Regions from separate parts of the Homo sapiens genome. Here regions 1, 2, 3, 4, 5 and 6 are each linked to region 7. Evidence: promoter capture Hi-C in 16 types of primary human blood cells and fetal thymus (Javierre and others, 2016). All regions are on one chromosome and are shown on one strand. Each heading gives the region's core, a stretch centred on a gene start or on the middle of the fragment in contact. The rest is flanking DNA. Distances are from core to core; before and after follow the strand shown.

Region 1 (3,024 bases), core at 271-2,770, 3.6 Mb after region 7:
TTTAACTTTTTAATTGATCTGAAACTGAATTTGTATGTGGGCAAAAGAAGGGATCTAATTTTATTTTTTTCTTATGAATGTTTGTTTTCTAAATAAGAGAAAATAAAGGAAGCTCAATTGCTCTTTATAATCCGTAAACCCCTTAACAACAGTCACTATGATTTATATTCATCCCATCAATACACTTCCTCAAAGTACTTTGAACATTACTGGTACATAATCTATATTTTTTGGAGAAGAGATACTTTTTTCCAGCCCCCATTGCTTAGACTATATACCAGTTGTCCACCTAAAATAATCTAAGTTGTGCTTAATTTATCCCCCTGAGCAGGAAATAGCATCTTAATAGGATTAACTTGGTATAAGCACTGAATAATTCCAATTAAACTGAAGGGTATTAATCACTTCCCTAACTTTGCCCATTTTTAGAAAGTTCTTCTGGAGAAAAATCTACCTACTCATCAAGTTAGATTCATTTATTTATCTACGAGGAGAAATGCATAACAAAGAAGTAGGAACCTGGACTAAAAACACATTTTAACCTATTTTATAAGACTTTTAAAAATCAACTGTTTGAGTCAAAGAACTACCTGTACGAACCTCAAGTTGATTGATGTTTTTTAAGGGTACCAGTTTACAGATTTAGGCTCTCAACAGGGCCTAGTTGCATTGGTTTAGTCCTTGCCAACACCTATTTACTTTCTCCTTTCTTTTATAAAGAAACAGTCTGAAATTAAGATATGTTTGTAACCTAATTTTAATCAAAGGCAATTAATGAAAACCAAGAAAGGAAATTTTTTAAGGAAACATTCTAAGATGTTTTTGAAGAATACTTCTCTAACACTTTTTGAAAAGAATCTCCTTACAAAATTTTGCTCTTTTCAAACAGTTCCAGGGGCATTAGCATCTCACAGGGATGAACACCTGTTTTGTTTGTTTGTTTGTTTGTTTTGGGGGGGTGGTTTTTGTTTTTGTTTTTTTGCTCGAGGATGGGGTTCTAACAGACCATGGTGAGAAGATAAAACTAACCAGAAGGTGTGAGAATAAACTGACAATTGTAAATAAAGTGAAATATAGTTGGTAAAAAAGAAAACACATAAAAACTTGGGAAGCAAAATCATTTTCTTTTCAAACACTGCATGTAAACTAATTTTTATTTATTTATTTATTTATCTATCTATCTATCTATTTATTTATTTATTTATTTATTTACCACGACTAAGGAGAGTCACTCAGATAGAAAAGATGTCATTGCTTCCAGCTTTTTACTGAGGGAAGCCCGTCACTTGAAATTGCTTCTATTAGCAGGTTCCCTAATAAAACCAAGGCAAATCCTGCACAGCCTCAAAAAAAAAAAAAAAGTTTCTACTACGATTCTGCAGTCAGTATCACCGTCTGTTTTATCTTTAATGTAGCAACGTATTTTTCATGGTTCCGCTTAACAGCGCTTAGAGACCTTGAACTTCAAAATCAGAATGCATCTTAGAGGAACTATCCCAGCACCACAATTTGGGGACGTGGGGACGTTGTGTATTCAAAAGCATTAATCTGTTTTGACTTCATCCTTTCTTTAAAAGGATCAAAAGTCAGCCATAAGTGTAAAAGAAAAACTAATTTTAAAAAAGTTTAGCCTTAAAAACATAACTATCTCAGCGCGTGGGGGTTCCCTCTGTTCAAAAGAAAACAAGAAAAAAAAAAGATGGACATTGCTGTCTTCTTTGCACGCTTCTCTTAAAATCCTCATTGGAAGCCCCCCTGGGAAAATGAGACTCCGATTTCTCACCTGTTTAAAATCACGCCACAGCAACGAATCACTGCAAAAGCAAGGTTCTAACTTAAAACAAAAAGAGAAAGTATTCGCTTCTGCGGAGAACCCGAGCCTCCTCCTGGGCGGGCGACGCTCGGCTGATGGGACCGGGCCGCGCAAGCCTCGGATGCAGCCGGGTGGGGGGCACCAGGCGCTAGGCGAAGGAGCGCAGGACCAAAGGAGATGCTTGGCTCCTAAGATAACACCTTTAAAAAGAAGAAGAAGAAAGAAAGAAAAACAAACAAACAAACTCGATACTTAGCCTCACGATCCTTGCCACCCCCTCCCTGCTCCGCCACCCACACACAAAATAAAGTGAGCCGGGCGGGGGAGTGCGCGCCCTGAAAGGGAACAAGAAGCAAGGCGCCTGTGACACAAAATGGAGAAAGAGGAACCGGGAGTGGAAAGGAAGAAGGAAAACCGAGTAAAGGAGGTTATTCATAAGAACAGGAAAGGGGCCGAGGGGTAGAGAACACCCGAAGGAAAGCGCAGGAGGCCCTCGTGAGAGGGCAAGGGGGAAAAGATCGACGAAGTAAGAGCGAAAAGAGGAAAGGAAAGAAAGACTTTCTAGATGCGGAGTCTCCATTTTCAGCAGCGCCATATTCGCTTTTCCTCTCGCCGCTTTTGGCTGGGTTTTGTGTGCGGCGGTGGACAGGCGCCAGCACATTTCTGCAGCTTCAGCAGCTCTGCTCAGACACCTGGGGAGGGCCGCAGGGCCCGGGCGGGGGACGCGCGCTCTTGGCCCAGGCCCGGGCGCGGCCCCCTCCCCGGCCTGGCGGTTCCTGCGCAGCGCCAGCCCCGCGCTCCTCTAGGCTGCAAAGGGGGCCTCCGACTCGGGCCCGGCCCGGAGGGGACACCTCACTCGGGGCCCCGCGGCAGCCCCCAGGGGACGCGGGCCCTCTAGTTTCGCCCACGGTGTGGCTGGGCATGCGTGCCAAGGGGATGCGTAACCGAGAACCGAAAAAGACGAACTTAACCTTCGGGGAGGAGGAGAGGGCGCACGCTGCGGGTACCGGGGCTTGGGGGCGCTCCTGGAGGTGACGGGGTCACCTCCACCTGCGCGGGGCCACTCTCTGGGAGCCGGCGATCGATGCCCGCCGCGGCGCCTGGCCCAGGCCCCCAGGCCTCTCGCGGCTCCCGGAAAAACGTCCGAGGTCGGGGCTCGGCCGGGAGCCCCAAGCGGGTCCCCTGGCCTCGGGACGCCAGTCCGGGAGGCG
Region 2 (2,801 bases), core at 251-2,750, 3.7 Mb after region 7:
TATAGCTCCAGGTTGGGAGAAATCACAAAGGTCCCCTGGCCTACTGTGACCACTCCAGTAGCTGCTCTTACATGGTGATTTCCCGCCCTGAGTTCCTAGATGGGAAAGAAATAGAGAGAAAGCAAGCCTGTGTTGATTCTGAAGTATCTTTTTTCTGTGTATATTTTGACTAATCAATTTTTATTTCATTAAACTTTAAGTCCTCATTGTTTATTTCATCTAACATCTTTATTTGCTTGAGATTTTTCAAAATTAAAGTGCACTCAGCTAGTAATCATTACTAGCAAAGGGGGAATAATTAGGTTAGAATATTTCAAGTCCGACATTGTCTTTCACCATTCAGTGATTAATCTGCTTCATACTCACCCATTGTGATGGGGGGGTTTCAGTAGTTAGTTATGAACCAGCCCTAGGCTTAGAGTCTACATGAGGAATTTTGACATCCATTATAATAGGGATAAAAGTTGTGCCATCGATGCATGAAAAATTGAACCACAGAGTAAAGCTCCTCACAGTTTGTGCATTTGAACTAGCAGGTTTATTGTACTTGTATATTTCTTTAATAAATATAATAATTTCACTAAATGATAATTCAATTTCACCAGTTGTTTTTAGGTTCTAAATAGAGTGTGGCAATATTAAACTGTATTTAAAGACCATCATAGGGTCCTGGTGATCTAACTCTTGTTCCCATCGCTTAGCTTTCACAGCTGGTAGTTAACGCAGGAGGGGTTGCTGCCGTGATTGACTGCATTGGGTCCTGCAAAGGGAACACACGGCTGCCTGGCATCATGATGCTTGGTTATGTAGCAGCTCATTCTGAGAACCTAGCAATGGCAGTCATCATTTCTAAGGTTTGTTCTTGCTTCGTTTTCTTCCAGTTGCAGTAAGAAATTCTAAGACAGAACCACAGATTAATGTTCTCCAACAGAATACAAAATATAACTGACTGGAGCAAAAAAATTACCTGAAAAAAATTTTGATTGTTTCAATGCTTATTAGCAAGTTTTATTAGCAAGGTAATGGGAAGTTTAAAGTTTTACTCAGCGTTTCTCATCAACAGGATATCAACTATTTTGAGCATTAGTATTATCTGTATTTAAATATTAAGTTTATTTGTATCTTGAAGGATTAATTGTACATATCTACAAACATGTAAAGCTTACCTTGGTTAGAAACACCTATTTGTAAATGACATGCCCAGTAGTCATTTTCAGTATTCTGGGAGGTCTATATACCCCTCCATTTCCTGCCACTTCAGTGGGAGATGACAATGGCTAGGACATCCCTTTTTATCCACTTTCTCTTCTTCAGCTTTTATTAACTATTTCTCTTCTTAGATTTAGGCAATTCAGAGCACATGTCAGTGTTTTTGTTTCCTTGCTCTAGGGCTTTTGCTTTATCTCAGTTCACAATTTTGTAAGAACCCCTCATCTAGTGCAGCCCTGGCACATAGTAGGTGCTTACGAAATGTGTGCTAATGAATAAATATTGATCTCTGGACGAATGCTTCAAAGCCTGTGTGCTTACAGTGTGTGCGGTGACCCTCTGGGGTGTGGGTTTCTTATCAGCATAGAAAACCTGCTGCTGTATGTTAAACAGAAATGTGGATTTTTTTTATCCCTTACTAATCCTCAGAATAAAAAGGAGCCTCAGATCTTTATTTTCTACCTATTTCTTGATAATTCTTTGCTTTACTCCCTTTTATCCTGCTCTTTTCCTTTTGTTCTTCTACTACCACAGACTGTGATAGTGACTAGAGCAATAGTGGTGCTTTCTGAAGGGTCACGGTAAGGATGTTACTAGGTTTTTGATCCTTGGTTCTTTTGTGGATAGTCATGAAGCTTATGCATGGGAAGAATGATGAAAGAAGAAGCAATTGCCGTTGCTTCCCATATGCCTTCCTGAAATTAACCAGGGAGCTCTCCCCTTCTTTGGTCTAAGGTTGCTGCTGGCCTTTCCCACTTGGTTTGTTTTTCAGATAGAGATCAAGGTGTTGCTTGCTGAAACTCCAGCAGTTTCGGGCAAGCCACATAGTATGGTAGCACTCTCTGCTTTTCCTGTGTGGTACTATAAAGACTAACAATAATACTTTACATTTAAATAGTAATTTTAAAGCAAATTTGCATTCCTTATCTTATTTGTTATTCATTATAATTGAGGCCAACAAGTCAGAGCTTCAGGGATGGAGTAGAGGCACTGTCTCCTTTTCCTCCTGTTTCTTCAGTCTTGTTACATCCTGGACATGTGGGCTTTCTGGAAAGTTGCTTCATTCTGAAGACAGGTCTGACCTTTAATATTGGCAGACATACATTTTTAGTTGTAGGAAAGAAGCCAATGAAGAAATATAGCTGACCTCTTCAGGAAATTGGTCTTAATAACCAAATTAAAAAGCAAAGAATAAAAGTATATATGATGATTCTGGCCTTTGCTGTGGTAGCATAACCATGTGATCTTTTTTTGTGGTACCAAATTTAAGGTGATTACCATAATCTCAAATTAGTCAGAAAATTACACCTGTACAGAATTTGGAATTAGAATTTGATTTTTTAAAATTGTTCCTTGGGTATACAAAATGTAATGTATTTGAGGCTCTTTAGTTTATTCTGTTTTTATTGTTTAGATAAAATTGAAGCATAAGATGCAAAATGTAAGCATGTGCTGTGTAACAAAAGTAGTCGTTGTTTTGACATTCAGTCATGTTAAAGTGGAAAGAACTATAATTTAAAAGTTGACCATAATTGATGGAAAGTTATTTATGTACTGTTTCAGGAAAGGTGTTAGTGAATATATTCCGCTGA
Region 3 (3,033 bases), core at 210-2,709, 3.4 Mb after region 7:
TTAAAAATGGGATGTTTTAAATTATATAATGTGACAAATATGGAAATCAGATTTCCCTTCAATTCTCAGGGTTTGTTTTTGCTATTTGTTTTTTAGTGAGTTTCCTGAATTCATTCTCCAAAGTATGATTTTTTTTTCATGTGTGACCACTGATATCTCTTCTTGGTTATCTTAATGGGCAGTTAATGACTGTACAGAGATTTCCTTAAACTCTTGGAACCAACAAGCCTGCCAGCCTTTGCTGAGGGGTGTTGTGTGCATATTGGGATTTGCCTCCAATGTTCAGACAGGCAGTTTACAATTCTGCTTCAAATTTCACTTTCTGCTTGCACAGAGACTGATAGTTAGCCAGAGGCGAGGGTTTAGGACCATCTCAGCAATTTCCTGGGCATGCGCATGCACACAGCCCTGTGCATATGTGTAGCCTTCTAGTTTCCCAGGAATATATCAGAGCTTTTCAAAGCTTATTATTAATATCTTATTCTCCCGCATTTCCTTTTAAGTTTTTGGTCAGCTTGTTGTTTGTCCTAGCTGTTATCATCACAAGCCTCGTGCAGCTGTAATGTTAAATAATTGCCACTAATTGTTTTTGACAAATACCTTTGGGTAAAATGCTGTTCATGGTGAGTGCTCCCTGAGTCGGGTCGAATAAAGACAAGTCTTATGAGTGAGATTTTCCAGGAACCTGCCAGACAGGTCACGTAATGACCATTATCTAGGAATGGGGCTTCAACATTCTGTTCCCTCCAGTGGCTTCTAGATTGTTAGCTTTCACCATGATTGCAGTTCTCTTTGTTTTCAAGGCTACTCTAGAGCTGGGGAGAGGAGCATGAGGACAGAGTAGGTTAAAATGCCATCAAGCCTCCTGTTCTTACCAGGATTCAGCCATTTTTCTTGCCTAAGCACTCAAATTTTTGCAAGCCTTTGGTTAATTTTCAGAGTTATGAAAAGTTGAATTTGACAGTTGTTTTTTTTTTTTTGCCAGTGTTCTTGTTGCTTTTATGGAGAAATAAATTTTCAGAGGTTCTTACTCTGCCATCCTTGAACTATTGTCCAGGTCCCAGTATTATTTTTTTAACTTTTTATTTTGACAAAATTATGAAATCACCTGCAGTTGTAGGAAGTAATACAAAGAAATCTCATATACCTTTTACTCAGTTTCTTTTCATGGTAACAGCTTGCATAACTAGAGTACAATATCCTAACCAGAAAACTTATACTGCTGCAAACTATTGACTTTATTCAGTTGTTACCAGATTTGCATACATTCACTTGTGTATGTGTGGTGTGTGTGTGTGTGTGTGTGTATGCATAAGTAGGTGTGTTTAGTTCTATGCAATTTTACCACGGTTAAGTTACATAATGGTTCTATCACAACGATCCTTCATGTTATTCTTTATTCCTTCATAGCCAGTCATGTCAACTCTTCCCCAAACCACCACTCCTAACATCTGTTCTCTAAGTCTATAATGTCATCTCAAGAGTGTCATGGAGTATATCATTCAATGAAATATCATTTGGCAATTAAAAGACAGTACTGACACATGGCACAACATGGATGAACCTTGAAAATATGCCACGTGAAAGAAGCCAAGCACAAAGGATCACACAACGGATGACTCCATTTCTTTTTGAAATGTCCAGAATAGACAAATCTGTAGAGACAGAAAGGAGATTAGTAGTTGCCATGGGCTGGGTGGGATGGGGGGAATTTTTGGTGATGGCTAAGTGATCTAGAAGGGAGGGCTTAATAAAAATGTCCTAAGATTGATTGTGGTGATGGTTGCACCTCTGTGAATATACTAAAAGCCATTGAATTGTACACTTTAAATGGGTGAATTACATGGCACGTGAACTATATCTCAATAAAGGTGTTTTTTAAAAAAAGAATGCAATGGAAATAGAGTCAGACAATAGGTGACTCTCTGAGACTGGTCCTATCATTTTAAAGCAAAAGTTTGGTCCCAGAGAAAGTATCTGTTGCAGATGTAGTAGATACATAATAATACAGTACAGAAAAGTTAGATATGAGCTATCATAGTTGAGTGTGGTAAGAGGTCACTTGGCATGGTCAGAAGGAAGGGGAGAACCTGCCAGCTCTCAGAGGAGTCTAGGTGGGATTACCATGCACATATAAATACAATCCAGGTGGGTCTCTTTTCAAGTCTACTCCAAGGATGAGATTTCTCAACTCTTTCTGGAACTGGACCCAAATGGGATGGATGAAAATAAGCTGTTTCAGCTCAATTCAGATAAGGCTTTTATTGGAAGAGAAAGCCAACAACGATAGAAATTTACACATACACTGAGGTTCACCGCCTCAGCTGCTTCTAGATTCACAGATAAAAACCATAGAGCAGAGTTCCTTTCTGTACTTGGCACAGAGATTAAACACCCTCATATGTGGCTCTTATCTTGTTTTGTACTTTTACTTCCCTCCGCACTAGATCATTACAAAGCTTTCTACTGGGAGAGACACGTTTCTAGACCTTATGTAATTATTTTCTGGTAGAAATGGAGTGACTCATTCAACTATAGAACGCTGTCCCTTGATCAGTGTTATCGTGGTTACTCACCATCGATCAGCATTCAGTAGAAGTAAGCTTGATTGCAATTAGCCTTTGTAGATCAGTGCATGATATAGTTTCAAAGCTAGAAATTTGAGAATTGAACATTTTCAAAAAGAGCTCCTAAAGGCAAATCCTTTAATAATTTCAAAATATCAAGAACTCACAATTTTCTGAGATAGATAGCTTATATGAATGGTCTCTATTTGAGAGAGAGAGAGAGAGGTAAAAGGTTATTTGCCGTTACTCTGACACTGGGTTCCTGCCCATTGTGTATTGCACTTTCACAGTAGAACAAAACTGCAAGAGTAATTAATCCTTAACTGGCTAAATAAACTCTCTCTCACAGAGCATTACCTTCTCTGACTTTAGAGATATTAACTACCGTAGAAATGTTTCACAAACGTGGTATTTCATGAACGTTAGAACAGAGTTCATTCTCTAAACCAGGGTTGGCAAACGTTTT
Region 4 (2,726 bases), core at 69-2,568, 3.7 Mb after region 7:
GTACAGGTATTTATAGATAAGTCTTATCCAATAATGAAATTTATAATTTCATTGATTTAAATAAACAGCGTTTCTTGTTGCGTGTTTTTTTTCCTGCCCTAGAACACTGATTCCCCATCCTATCCAGAGATTAGTTTTAGTTGCAGCATGGAACAATTACAGGTACAGTATTAGGATCTATAAATATTCCTGTCTTTTTATAAATGTTTACTTGAGAGTTATACTCTTGGGAAGTTCAAAAGAAAATTAATCTAACCATTTGTCAGCAGATAATGAAGATTGGTTAAGGATTTAATGGGAAAGGGGCATCAAAAGTAGTATTTTAAGATAGGCTTCACTTGAAATTAAGATGTTATTAATAGAGAATTGGTCTGTATTTGCTGTTCTTGCTGATTGAAATAAACTTCTGTAGTGTTTAGTGTAAATTTCTTCTATTCATGATGAGTTTGGTCCAATAAGATAAACAAAATTAAGAGCATGGCTTTGAAAATGTCTTTGCTTTCAGAAATTGAATTAAACTGTCAAAATTGGATTTTGAAACTTTTTAAATGACTTTATAAAGGGGGAAGTATACATAACATTCTAAAACTGTTTATATTGCCCATTTAAGACTGGGAAAATTCAAAACTACATTTATTAGTGGATATGACAACGAATTTATTTCATAGTTTTTAAAAAATGAAGCTCATTACTGGAAATTTAAGTGAAATTGAATTTTTCAAAGGCATCTTCTGCAGAGTCGTTTTAATGTAACTATGAATCAAACTTTCAACTTTCAGAAAATGTGTATACAGCATAACCTTTGTTAGATAACTTGAGAAAATTCAGATGTATCTGGGCGGTTAAGGATCCGGTTAGAAATCATGTTTCAGTGTGAGGGCAAATAACCGATTTGAACATGAGGTATTTCCGAGGAAACGCTTTTTTTGCCCGATAGTAGTTTGTCAAAAGTTAAAATCTTGTTGAATTTTAAACTTGTTTGGAAGGTGTGTCCTGATTTTTTTTCTTGCATCTTTCTTGAGCTTGGATACTTCTTTCCATGTTTTATCCTAAAAACGTGGTATTGTATACACGTCTTTTAGGACTTGGTGGGGAAACTTAAAGATGCTTCGAAAAGCCTGGAAAGAGCAACTCAGTTGTAACTTGGGGAAGTTAACGATCCGCCCGAGTGCAGAGGAAAACCAGAAACGCCTTGCCTTCAGCTGAACCACCGTTTGTGCGAGCTGGATGTCCTTTTCAGTAGAAAAGAATTTTCCTTTTGAATTTATACCATTCATCAATTTTGACACTTTAAAAACGTGTGAAAGGGTTAAGAGGGAAAGATACTGCCCAAGTATTTGAATCGTTTAGTAGTAACTGTCCATTTATCCTATTTTGATCTTTTTCAAGTCTTCTGAAAGGAAGTAGACAGTATTACACCCTGAATAAATAAGGTGTTGTTTTCCACAAAGAGTGATGATATTTTGTTTGGATCTGAGTTCGTGTGTTATTACTTTGTGTGAAGCTAGATAGGAGTAGTGTGAACTTTTAACGATAGCCTTTTCTCAGGATTAAAGTTAAACACGGAGGAAACGATGCGATCTCCTGGGTTTGTCGCAGACCCCTGCTTCGGGGCTCCGGGGGCGGGCGCGGGCGGCTGCCCGGCCCGTTACCTGCGCCCGAGGGCTCGCCCACAGCCCGACCCTCGGCCGCCCGGTCCCGGCCCGGCGCGGAGCCCCTGCCCGGAGCCAGCCGTCGCCCGCGCGCGCCCCGCCTCGGCCGCCCGCGGGCGGGGAAGAGGCCGGCGCGGCCGCGGGCTGGCGGGCAGGGGCGGGCGCTGTTGTTTCCGCGAGCCCAACTTGGGCGCAGGTTCCGCGCCGCGGCGCCGGAGCCTGGGCCGCAGCCCGCGGGGCCGGCCGGGGGGCGGCGGCCGCGGGACGTATGCGCCCCGGGAGGAGGCGGGCGGCCGGGAGAAAGAAAGAACGGGGGGCGGGGTGGGCTGCGCGGCGTGCGGGGCCGGAGCGGCGGCCGCGCGGAGCAGGGCGGCGCGTGTGGCGCTGTGGAGAAATGTCTCCGCCGCCGCGGCGCGGAGCGAGGGAGGGGGCCGGGCGCGCGGCGCGGAGGGGAGGGGGCGGCCACGGGCCTGACTACACCGACACTAATTCCCAGGCCGCCCTTAAGGAATGAGGGGAGCACGTGACCCGCTGGGGGGGCGGCGGGGGGAGGGGGCGGGCGGACTCCGAGCCATTTTGGAGCCGGTGTCAGTTTCCACTCTGCCTTCAGCGGTGCATTTTTTTCCACCCTCCCCTCCCCCTCCTCCCCTCCCCCCGCTCGCACGCACACACACGGCGCCCCCCGCCCGCCCGCCTCCCCCACAGCAACTATGAAATAATCGTAGTATGAGAGGCAGAGATCGGGGCGAGACAATGGGGATGTGGGCGCGGGAGCCCCGTTCCGGCTTAGCAGCACCTCCCAGCCCCGCAGAATAAAACCGATCGCGCCCCCTCCGCGCGCGCCCTCCCCCGAGTGCGGAGCGGGAGGAGGCGGCGGCGGCCGAGGAGGAGGAGGAGGAGGCCCCGGAGGAGGAGGCGTTGGAGGTCGAGGCGGAGGCGGAGGAGGAGGAGGCCGAGGCGCCGGAGGAGGCCGAGGCGCCGGAGCAGGAGGAGGCCGGCCGGAGGCGGCATGAGACGAGCGTGGCGGCCGCGGCTGCTCGGGGCCGCGCTGGTTGCCCATTGACAGCGGCGTCT
Region 5 (2,700 bases), core at 10-2,509, 3.7 Mb after region 7:
AAAAGCGAAGAATAGGGAGTAAGGCATAAACACAAAACATGCATAGAAATTTCAATCTTCCCTTCCCGGATGGAAGTGTGCAAGTCTCTTCTGCTCTGCTGACAAACTTGATGAAATAACTGGGTGGTCGGCTCAGACCTAAAATCCTGACATTATTTCCCAAAAGAGGCGCGATGCACCATTTAAGATAGTCATGTTTACTTTCATCATTATAGGTAATATTTCTGTTCCACCAACTTGGTTATGGACTAAGTAATGCCTTTATTTTTAATTCCAGTATGTAACTATGAATTATTTTAGTAATTTTAAATTTAGTGTTTGCAAAATGATTAATGTAGTCTCATAACTTCAGTAATTACATGCAATTGCCCGTTGAATGCCTTCTTAAATGCTAACAATGATTTTGGGGAAAAAATTATTTTAGGGGAGGGAAATTTCATAGCTGCATAGAACTCAGCTAATTTTTATTAAAAACAAGAAGCCTTTTGTTATTTAAATGATGTTTTAGGTATTCTCACTTCTTCGCCTACTTTACCATAAGTCCCTCATCTTTGCCCCCAAAACACTAATAGCACTTAGAGCAATTACAGCCCTTAAAACAGTGGCAGACTGCAGTACATGCCCATTGAATGAATGCAGGCTGCGGTATATATGCTGGTAGAATGAAGTGATGTCTATCTGCTACTAGACTTCATGTCCTGGAAGAAAGGCACATTCTGTTATTAGCAAGGTGTTTGACACACATTAATAATGAATACGTGTTAGGCTTGATGCAGAATATATATAAACACTTGATTCAACTCAATGACAGTTTTAAAATGCAGATATTAATATCTAATTAGCATATATAAATCTTTAAATTTTAAAATTCAGCTAGGAACTGAAGAAAAAATACATGGGTGTTAAAATTAGCAAAGCTTCTTTTAGGTATGTATAGCATATATTCCCATGATAATAGGATTTTCTGAATTCTCAAAGGAGGTATGCAAAGAGAAACAACAAGATTTTAAAACTGGCTTTATTTTGTTGTCATTTTCAGTCTCATTTTCATAAATAAAGGAGGAAATATTTGAAAAAGTGATTTTGAAGTTACATATTATGATTAGCGTTTTACAAAAGTAGCCAAAGGCTTCCAAACAAACCTTTCATGGAAACACTTTTTTGCAAGTTGTTCAGCTAATGGTTCATTCTCAATCAAATGTATAGTCTTATGTGCCAGTTACATTGTATATCTCTAAAGTCAGCTGGTACTTTAAGAACAGTAATCTTCCTGTAATACTTTTTAAAATACCGAAGTATCCCTTTGAATTGTTTTCTTTTTCATTGCTTAACTGTTAGTTTAGAGGTGTGTATGTGATCATGGGACATTCATTTAACTTTAGAAAACAGAATAGTATTTTGTTTTAGAGTTAGTACATTGAAAAATGGGTCAGAAAATACAGATTGGTTTTCTTGTCAGTAAAAGTAATCTGCCATATTTTATGCTTGAATTACTAATAATTTCACTTATATGCATATTGTAATCACTCTGTGTTACATACATTTCTCCATTTAGTTTTTAAGATTTTTTTAAGAAGGAACCTAAAATAAAGAGCAAAGATCAAGCTTCTTTAATATGTCCAATTTCAGATATGAAGTAGGCATCCTATATTATGTTTTATCAGGAATAATACAATTTAACTAAAAGATATTGTTAATAACAGATACTCAGACTCTAAAGTAATTTACATAGCTTTTGAACGTATGTTTTCAAAGAACTTAGTAGCATCCCATACTGTGTTATGTTTATAGGTTTAGACCTCTCCCCCTCTATTGAGCTCTTAACACTTTTAAAATGGAAAACAAATAGTAAAGCAGTTGCTAAAAATGGCAGTTGGAGTAGCTTAAGAGTTTGAATTGTTTGTTTAAGGACTGAAACCAAATATAAAAACTTTTAAGGGGATTTTTTTTCATCATTCAACAAGGAACTGAAAATTACAAGGCTTATTTGCAATCTTAATTATTTACTCAATCTGTTTCCTCCCACGTCTCTAAATGGGAACGCATAACTTTAATTTTAAAGGACATATTCCCATAGGGAAATATAGATATCACTGTAAAACTTACGACTTTGAATTAAGTAAAAAGATTGTGGCCATCACTGGCTTTTGAGCTGCAGAAGCAGAAGACATGTACCTGCCCTTCGGGGGTATTAGGGACCCGACTAAACACACTTATTCTTCTCTCTGATTGCTGGACCATTCCCCAACTATTTGGAGCTCCACAAAGTATCAGGACTTCATCAAGAGCTCAGTGAAGGGTGAGATCTCAAAGATAAATATAGAGGACTCATTCCAAATATAGAACCAGTTAAGTTTGCATGCTCCCTTCTGTTGAAGAAATATCAAGGGGTTTCCTGTCTTGGCACTACTTAGCAGCAGCTGCGGCTATGTATCCACTTGACATCTGGTGAAATTGTAGTTTTTGATGGAGGAACATTTAAAGTTGACAACTGTCATTGAAACAACTGGTATATAGTTTTCAAAGACAAGCTAGAAACCAGTAATAGACTAAGTACTTCAATTTTGTTAAAAGAAACTGGGTAAAGGGTTCAAGTTATATAAGATAGGGAAGTCTGGTTTTCCAGGTAAAGGTTCTCTCTCTTTTTCTGTTGGAGATGTCATTCATCAACATAACGAAGCCTAAATTTAAAAGACTAAG
Region 6 (3,039 bases), core at 92-2,591, 3.6 Mb after region 7:
TATCTAGGTTTGGCTGGTATTACAGAGCCCAGAAATTAAGGACAAAAAGATGCTCCTCAGAAATAGCATTTATTGCAACATCAACAACCATGACACGTTGAAATTTTATAAGGCCAATGCATCCATAAATATTTGTGCAATTCTTCCAAATTGTTGCCCACCTACCTTTTTTTTTTTCTTGAGACAGGGTCTCACTCTGTCACCCACGCTGGAGTGCAATGAAGTGATCACCATGCTGGGTTAATTTTTTATTTTGTGTAGAGATGCTGTCTCATTCTGTCGCCCAGGCTGGTCTCCAACTCCTGGGCTCAAGTAATCCTCCTGCCTTGGCCTCCTAAAGTGCTGAGACTACCGGTGTCAGCCACCCACACTGGGACCCACCTATCTTACCTGCCTGCAAGAGCCAAGGAAATGGCCTAAGCACTTGTCCACATAATCACAGCAACTGCTTCTGCTTACATTAGAGGGGAGTTTTGCACTCAGTGTGACACCTCCATTCCCATTTAATTCTCCTCCATTTTCTGGTCTCTAAATCATATTAATACCCAAAATAGGGTGAAATAGAATGTATTTAGAAATTTAAGATCAAATTTTAAACTGCCACCTAGGCCCCTGGTCAAGTACAAATTCTGGTACTATCTCACAAAAGTGTCCTGAAACAGGGGTCTACGTGGATGTGCCAATTCCCAAACATCAGCTTGGGGTCAAAGAATCCTTAGTCTCTAGACTCCATGGCCTGAATCTATCCTGAATCTGTCTCCTTCCAGATTTTGCCTGCCTCTCTCTCTCATCTTGCCTTCTGTACCTAAATGCTAACAAATTGTTTCCCTAAGACAGATTCCCCAGGAATACTTCCTATGCACACACAGCTTTCATTTGAATAAAATTGAGCAGCCCAATGAATGCATAATTTAACAATGCCCTTTAGCACGCCACAAATGTTGTGTTGGTTTTTATTTTACCCCCTTTACAAGATTTGGAGCAAAATATTAACGAAACTTCATAAAAACCAATTCAAGTATCTTTTGGTTTCAAATTAACTAATTAGGTAGCTGTATTTTAGAGGAAGGAACTTCCAAGAAGGCAGTACATCAGGGAGGAGCTTGGGCTTGGGCCTGACTACCCAGGTTCCAAACTCACTGTGACTTCCGGCAAATTACTCAGCTATTTACTCAGTCGCACTGTGCCTCAGTTGCCTCATCTGTACAATGGCAATAATAGGACCTGGAAGACTTATGAAGATTACATACCTTTCTCCACGAAAGCACTCAATAAAATAAGCCTTTATTAATATGTCAACTGAGCTGAAACATAACGAATATAAAACAATATATCCACAGGAATAAGATGTATTAGTTCTTACACTTTTCTTCAAAACTGTCTTTCAATTTTCTGTAGTCCAAGCCAAAACAATAATTATTATGATGAAACTATGATTATTTCTCAAAGTAATAAAATAGAAGGAAACTATTTTGAGAGGGCTTTGCATTTGGGGAAATAAAAGGTAGGGGACGTTGAAAGTAGAAAGTTGAAGCAAAGTATGGTAGCAGCTTCACATTCAATCTTTCTCATCATTCTTTTTTTTCAGGTTTAACAGTCATACTATTGTAAAAGAGGTTTTCTCCTTTTCCGCCTTGATGGGAAGTGTTGCAGGCTTATTCTATTCTCTACTAAATTCAAGCGTTTTAGTAGAAAAAGTAAAATATAATATATATTCTTACAATATTGTCCACACGAAAGATTTACTACACAAAAATTATTTCTGAAGGCATTAATACCAGGAACAATTAATGTTTAAGTCGCAAACGGAGATGTTTACGCTGACAGGGAACAGACAAAAGGGCGGCCATGCTTCAACAAAATGTAGGAGTTTTCAGTTTGCAGCTTGAACTTGACACTGTTGAAATACATGCATTTCGGTGGCCCCGTTACATTTCACGCGTCACGAAGCCGAGCAAGACCAGCCCGGGCCGCCTTCCCCGTGTACGCGCGGGCCTCCGGGGACGCGCAGAGCTGGAGCGGCGGGCGCGCGCGGCAAACGGGCCCGCGCGGCCTCTGCGCGTCCCCGCTCCAGCACCCTGGCGAGGCCTAGACCGCCGTGAAGACCCCGGGGAAGGAGTGGCCGCGCTCACCTGCAGCCGGGAGAGGACAGCGGGGGAGAGGAGGCCGCTCTGCACCGGCCGAAAGCGAAGGGCTCGCCGGCTGGCCGCGTAGTGTAAGGGTCGGTGGTTTCTTTGCTTGGTCCCTGGAAATCCACCCCTTCTTATCCCGGAGGCCTGAACTCGATTTCTGCAAAACTTCCCGCGACCAGCTCATAAAAGGAGAGCGCGTCCCTGGGTGGGCTCGAACCACCAACCTTTCGGTTAACAGCCGAACGCGCTAACCGATTGCGCCACAGAGACTTCGGTGTCATTTTCCCCTTCTGCCTCAGCCTTTATGAAGAATAATAAAGGCAGTGTGTGGCTGTTTCTGCTTTCTGATTGGTACTATCAGAACCAAAATATTTTACTTCACGTTTCCAACCCTCTTAATTCTATTTTCCACCTTTTAAGCATATCGCAAAATTATACAACAAAATCAAGCAGCATTGCAGATTGCAAAATGTATTAAAATACTGTTGCTCCCCCCCGCCAACTCCCATTTGGAACGTTGTATTTCAGGAAAATAACTATTTCTTATTAGTTTTCTTTTATGAGAAAATCAAAGCTTTCATCTTGTGAGCTGAGAAACTTTCCCTTTGTTTCGAACAATTTGCCCAGTGCTTCGTTCGCTCATCTCTCGTGATTTACTTGTGTAGTATTCCCAAGGTCATCTGAATTTTATTTGGCTGCTTTATTTTTATATTCAGGTATTACTAAATGCATAGATGAAATCCCTATTTGTTTTGTACTAAATACAGTACAATGATTTCACACTAACATTTTGTTACTGGAAAGAAACATCAGGGAAAAAAAGCTACAGGAACATTTCTTAGTTCCAGTGCGTTGTAGTTTATTGCTAAATCTGCCCTCGTCCCTGGAATTAGCCTACACACCCACA
Region 7 (2,700 bases), core at 45-2,544:
TGGTCCAACTGATAGTCATGAAAGTTAAGTTTGCATAGGGTCAGTACATTCTTTTTCCTCTACATAGGAGGTTGAAACTTGCCTTTAATGTTGTAACGTTGGAGCATATTATCCTGCATCTAAGTCTTAAAGGGTCTTTAAACCATAGCACTGGGAGGACGTAAGTCATACATTCTCCTTGTACAGGTTAACTCAAGAGTTTGGCATGTTAAAAGGCCACGTTGCCAAGGTTAAAATCCAACCATCTGACTGAAGTCAGAGTCTAAAAAAATTTTAAGCTTGCTCCTCCGTCAACTGGTTTCAAGGACATTCAGTTTCGTTTCATGCCAGGCTGTGAAGCTTTTCTTTTCAATGCTAGAACCTAACCATGGAAAGTGGAATTGAAAACAATTACACAGCGAATTGGCTTATGCGTGGACTTCGATCTGGGATCCACGAACATACCTAATGCTTGGCAAAATGGAGAGGGGTGCTATGTGTTATTATTATGTGTTATTATTAATCACATAACTGAACTCTGTGGCTCCAGGCCTTCCATGGCTCGTCTCCCAATCAATTCTTTTCAGAACTAAGAATCACGACAGGGGCCGGGCGCGGTGGCTGAGCCTGCAATCCCACCACTTTGGGAAGTCGAGGCAGGAAGATCGCTTGAGCCCAGGAAATTGAGTCCCCCTGGGCAACACAGCCCGACCTCGTCTGCAATCGATCAATCAATCAATGAGTACATAAATGCATAAGCCAATGAATGAATACGTGAATGAATAGATTAATAAATGAATGAAGAAGAATCACGGCAGAACTCCTAACCCCTAGCACGCCTGCCTAGGGGAACAGGAATAAGTCAGGAAAGAAACACTCTTCACTTCTGTGAGTTTTCTAAGAGCAGCAAACGGCGGCTGCTCACTTAGAGAACCTATGGTCTTTCCTGGTTTTAGAGGTCAGGGAAGCAGCTGCTAGCAGCAGAGACTCAAATCAAAGGGGAGTCCCACAAACGTTTTGAAGGCTGACATCAGAAGGAGCACGCACCAAGGGAAATTTCCCACCCCCCCGCGATACCGCAAATTCCCAGCCGCTGGCCGTTTGGGACTCTCCTACCGGAAGTGAAACCGAAGAAAACGCCACGTCGAAGGCGTGGGTTGCCGTAAGTGCGCCGTCGTCACGCGCCTAGCTTCCGGCGATGGGTGGTCCTGGGATCCGGAGGGGAGGCGGGGTGGAGGCGGGGCTTGGGGCTGTGGAGAGGCTGTGGTAGGTAGGTGGGTACAGACCGAGGGGACTACGGGTCGGCGTTGGGCTCAGTGGGCTCGAAACAAAGGGCTGTCCGGTGGGGATTCGTCGCGGCGCCTTCTGAGTGGTCGGGTCGAGGCTTCTCGGCCTAGCAGTGCCCTCGCTGCGCGATCTCAGGCGGGTTCTCCTCGGCTCCGCGCAGCCCGCGCCGCGGTGGGGGACCCGGCGCAGCGGCACCTGCTGCCGAGGGACCCCGCGGCCCGCCCCGGTGCTCGTGATGGGGCTGATCTTCGCCAAACTGTGGAGCCTCTTCTGTAACCAAGGTGAGAAGAATGGAGCTGCGCGGCGGCTCGAATCCGAGGCAGAGGGTCCCGCCGCCGATGGGGACACCGGAGACAGGGGACAGAGCGTTCGGAGACGCGGAGGAGGAAGGGACTTAGGCCAGGGGGCGGGCAGAAACTCAGTGTTTTAGACCTGGAGGACGTACAGGAGAGACCTGACGTGTGGGAGAAATAGGGAGGCAGAAGAGAAGGTATTTGGCGTCCCAGAATCCAAACTGAGAATGTTTGGATATTGGCGAAGTAAAGCGGGATACAGCTAATGATGCCAGGAGGCGTATGGAGGGCCTTTCTCGTCTTTATTGAAGCGTGCTTGTGTCTATGTGTATCCCCAGGATAAGTGTCCGCCCAGAAACCTAGAACTTTTTTTTTTTTGAGTAATGTAGGTGCTTTGTTTTCCCGCCCTGCAGTTTGAGCCGTAAGCCAGTGCACTTTCACTCTGATTTCGCCTCCTTTCCTCTAGGACTTGGGAATGAGTTGTCCTATTCAGATGCACGAGTTTTCCAGCATCTTCATTGTAAACTTTTTTTTTTAAAGCATTTAGTTCAGAAACTAAATGCTTTTCGGTTTTGTGTAAGACGTTACGTGTCCGTAATTAGTCTGTAACAGGTAATGAGACACCTGGAAGTGGCAGGTCCAAAGGGCCGAGAAGTTGCAAAACCTGTTCTGAATCAGAATGAGATGTGATGTCTTCTGAAGAGAGAAAACACCCAGACCAAAAAAGGGGCCGACGATAAGTTAAAGTTTGAGGCGTCCTTTGAACAGAATGGTTTCTTAGTAATTGAAACCAGTTTTGAAAATCAACTCGTTTCATTTTACATTTAAGAGCCGGGCATCGTTAATAAGCCAGTTTTATTTCCTTTTATGTTGGTACCAATTTGTTACTGCTAATGTAGGTATCTAATCTTTTTCTGGATTTAAGAAGTTGTGGAGGTAATGGAATGGCTTTAGTTGACTTGTTCTGTAGATTGATAAGAACACTAAAGCAGTCTTTTTCAAGGTTATAAATATAGATACAGGCACACACATGTGTATATATATGTATATGCCTGTATCCAGTAACCACAGATAATATTACTTATCAAATGATTTCAAAGTGAGCAGAGCTTCACACTTTGTGGGTATTATCCATACATTT

What was found. The method cuts DNA at HindIII sites, captures the fragments that hold promoters and counts their contacts. A CHiCAGO score of 5 or more calls a contact.
Region 1: a contact is called between a fragment that was not itself captured here and the fragment with the promoter of ARL5B in region 7, in 1 of 17 cell types (naive B cells). The highest score is 5.1, in naive B cells.
Region 2: a fragment that was not itself captured here is called in contact with the fragment with the promoter of ARL5B in region 7 in 1 of 17 cell types (total CD4 T cells); the score reaches 5.5 in total CD4 T cells.
Region 3: a contact is called between a fragment that was not itself captured here and the fragment with the promoter of ARL5B in region 7, in 2 of 17 cell types (activated CD4 T cells and non-activated CD4 T cells). The highest score is 8.5, in activated CD4 T cells.
Region 4: a contact is called between a fragment that was not itself captured here and the fragment with the promoter of ARL5B in region 7, in 4 of 17 cell types (fetal thymus, total CD8 T cells, monocytes and 1 more). The highest score is 9.5, in fetal thymus.
Region 5: a fragment that was not itself captured here is called in contact with the fragment with the promoter of ARL5B in region 7 in 8 of 17 cell types (total B cells, non-activated CD4 T cells, total CD4 T cells and 5 more); the score reaches 14.3 in total B cells.
Region 6: a fragment that was not itself captured here is called in contact with the fragment with the promoter of ARL5B in region 7 in 3 of 17 cell types (monocytes, total B cells and total CD4 T cells); the score reaches 7.9 in monocytes.

Annotation. Positions count from the first base shown.
Region 1 is chr10:22,249,921-22,252,944 of GRCh38, forward strand. It overlaps LOC105376447 (a long non-coding RNA gene), which reads right to left. Exons shown (of 2, transcript XR_001747390.3): 2 at 1-2,013. LOC100130992 (a long non-coding RNA gene) reads left to right here and starts at 2,152. Exons shown (of 1, transcript NR_038921.1): 1 at 2,152-3,024. RefSeq lists an enhancer at 1,456-1,535 and a silencer at 2,486-3,005. The HindIII fragment of the contact is 5,966 bases long and covers 1-3,024 here.
Region 2 is chr10:22,388,459-22,391,259 of GRCh38, forward strand. SPAG6 (sperm associated antigen 6) reads left to right here. Exons shown (of 11, transcript NM_012443.4): 7 at 702-854. Among named protein-coding and RNA genes, the nearest start is that of SPAG6, 44 kb to the left of the region's middle. The HindIII fragment of the contact is 683 bases long and covers 1,160-1,842 here.
Region 3 is chr10:22,027,185-22,030,217 of GRCh38, forward strand. No RefSeq gene overlaps it. Among named protein-coding and RNA genes, the nearest start is that of DNAJC1, 25 kb to the left of the region's middle. The HindIII fragment of the contact is 1,996 bases long and covers 462-2,457 here.
Region 4 is chr10:22,318,857-22,321,582 of GRCh38, forward strand. COMMD3-BMI1 (COMMD3-BMI1 readthrough) reads left to right here. Exons shown (of 14, transcript NM_001204062.2): 5 at 103-162. COMMD3 (COMM domain containing 3) reads left to right here. Exons shown (of 8, transcript NM_012071.4): 6 at 1-6; 7 at 103-162; 8 at 1,083-1,450. The coding sequence ends at 1,142. It overlaps BMI1 (BMI1 proto-oncogene, polycomb ring finger), which reads left to right and starts at 2,243. Exons shown (of 10, transcript NM_005180.9): 1 at 2,243-2,726. RefSeq lists silencers at 1,728-1,987, 2,048-2,217, 2,408-2,607. The HindIII fragment of the contact is 6,481 bases long and covers 1-2,726 here.
Region 5 is chr10:22,342,041-22,344,740 of GRCh38, forward strand. No RefSeq gene overlaps it. Among named protein-coding and RNA genes, the nearest start is that of SPAG6, 2.1 kb to the right of the region's middle. The HindIII fragment of the contact is 688 bases long and covers 916-1,603 here.
Region 6 is chr10:22,227,181-22,230,219 of GRCh38, forward strand. TRN-GTT2-3 (tRNA-Asn (anticodon GTT) 2-3) reads right to left here and starts at 2,402; the gene lies at 2,329-2,402. RefSeq lists a silencer at 1,854-2,103. The HindIII fragment of the contact is 2,726 bases long and covers 1-2,704 here.
Region 7 is chr10:18,658,137-18,660,836 of GRCh38, forward strand. ARL5B (ARF like GTPase 5B) reads left to right here and starts at 1,295. Exons shown (of 6, transcript NM_178815.5): 1 at 1,295-1,547. The coding sequence starts at 1,502. It also overlaps a transcript of NSUN6 not described here. RefSeq lists enhancers at 124-243, 944-1,073 and a silencer at 1,384-1,463. The HindIII fragment of the contact is 6,724 bases long and covers 338-2,700 here.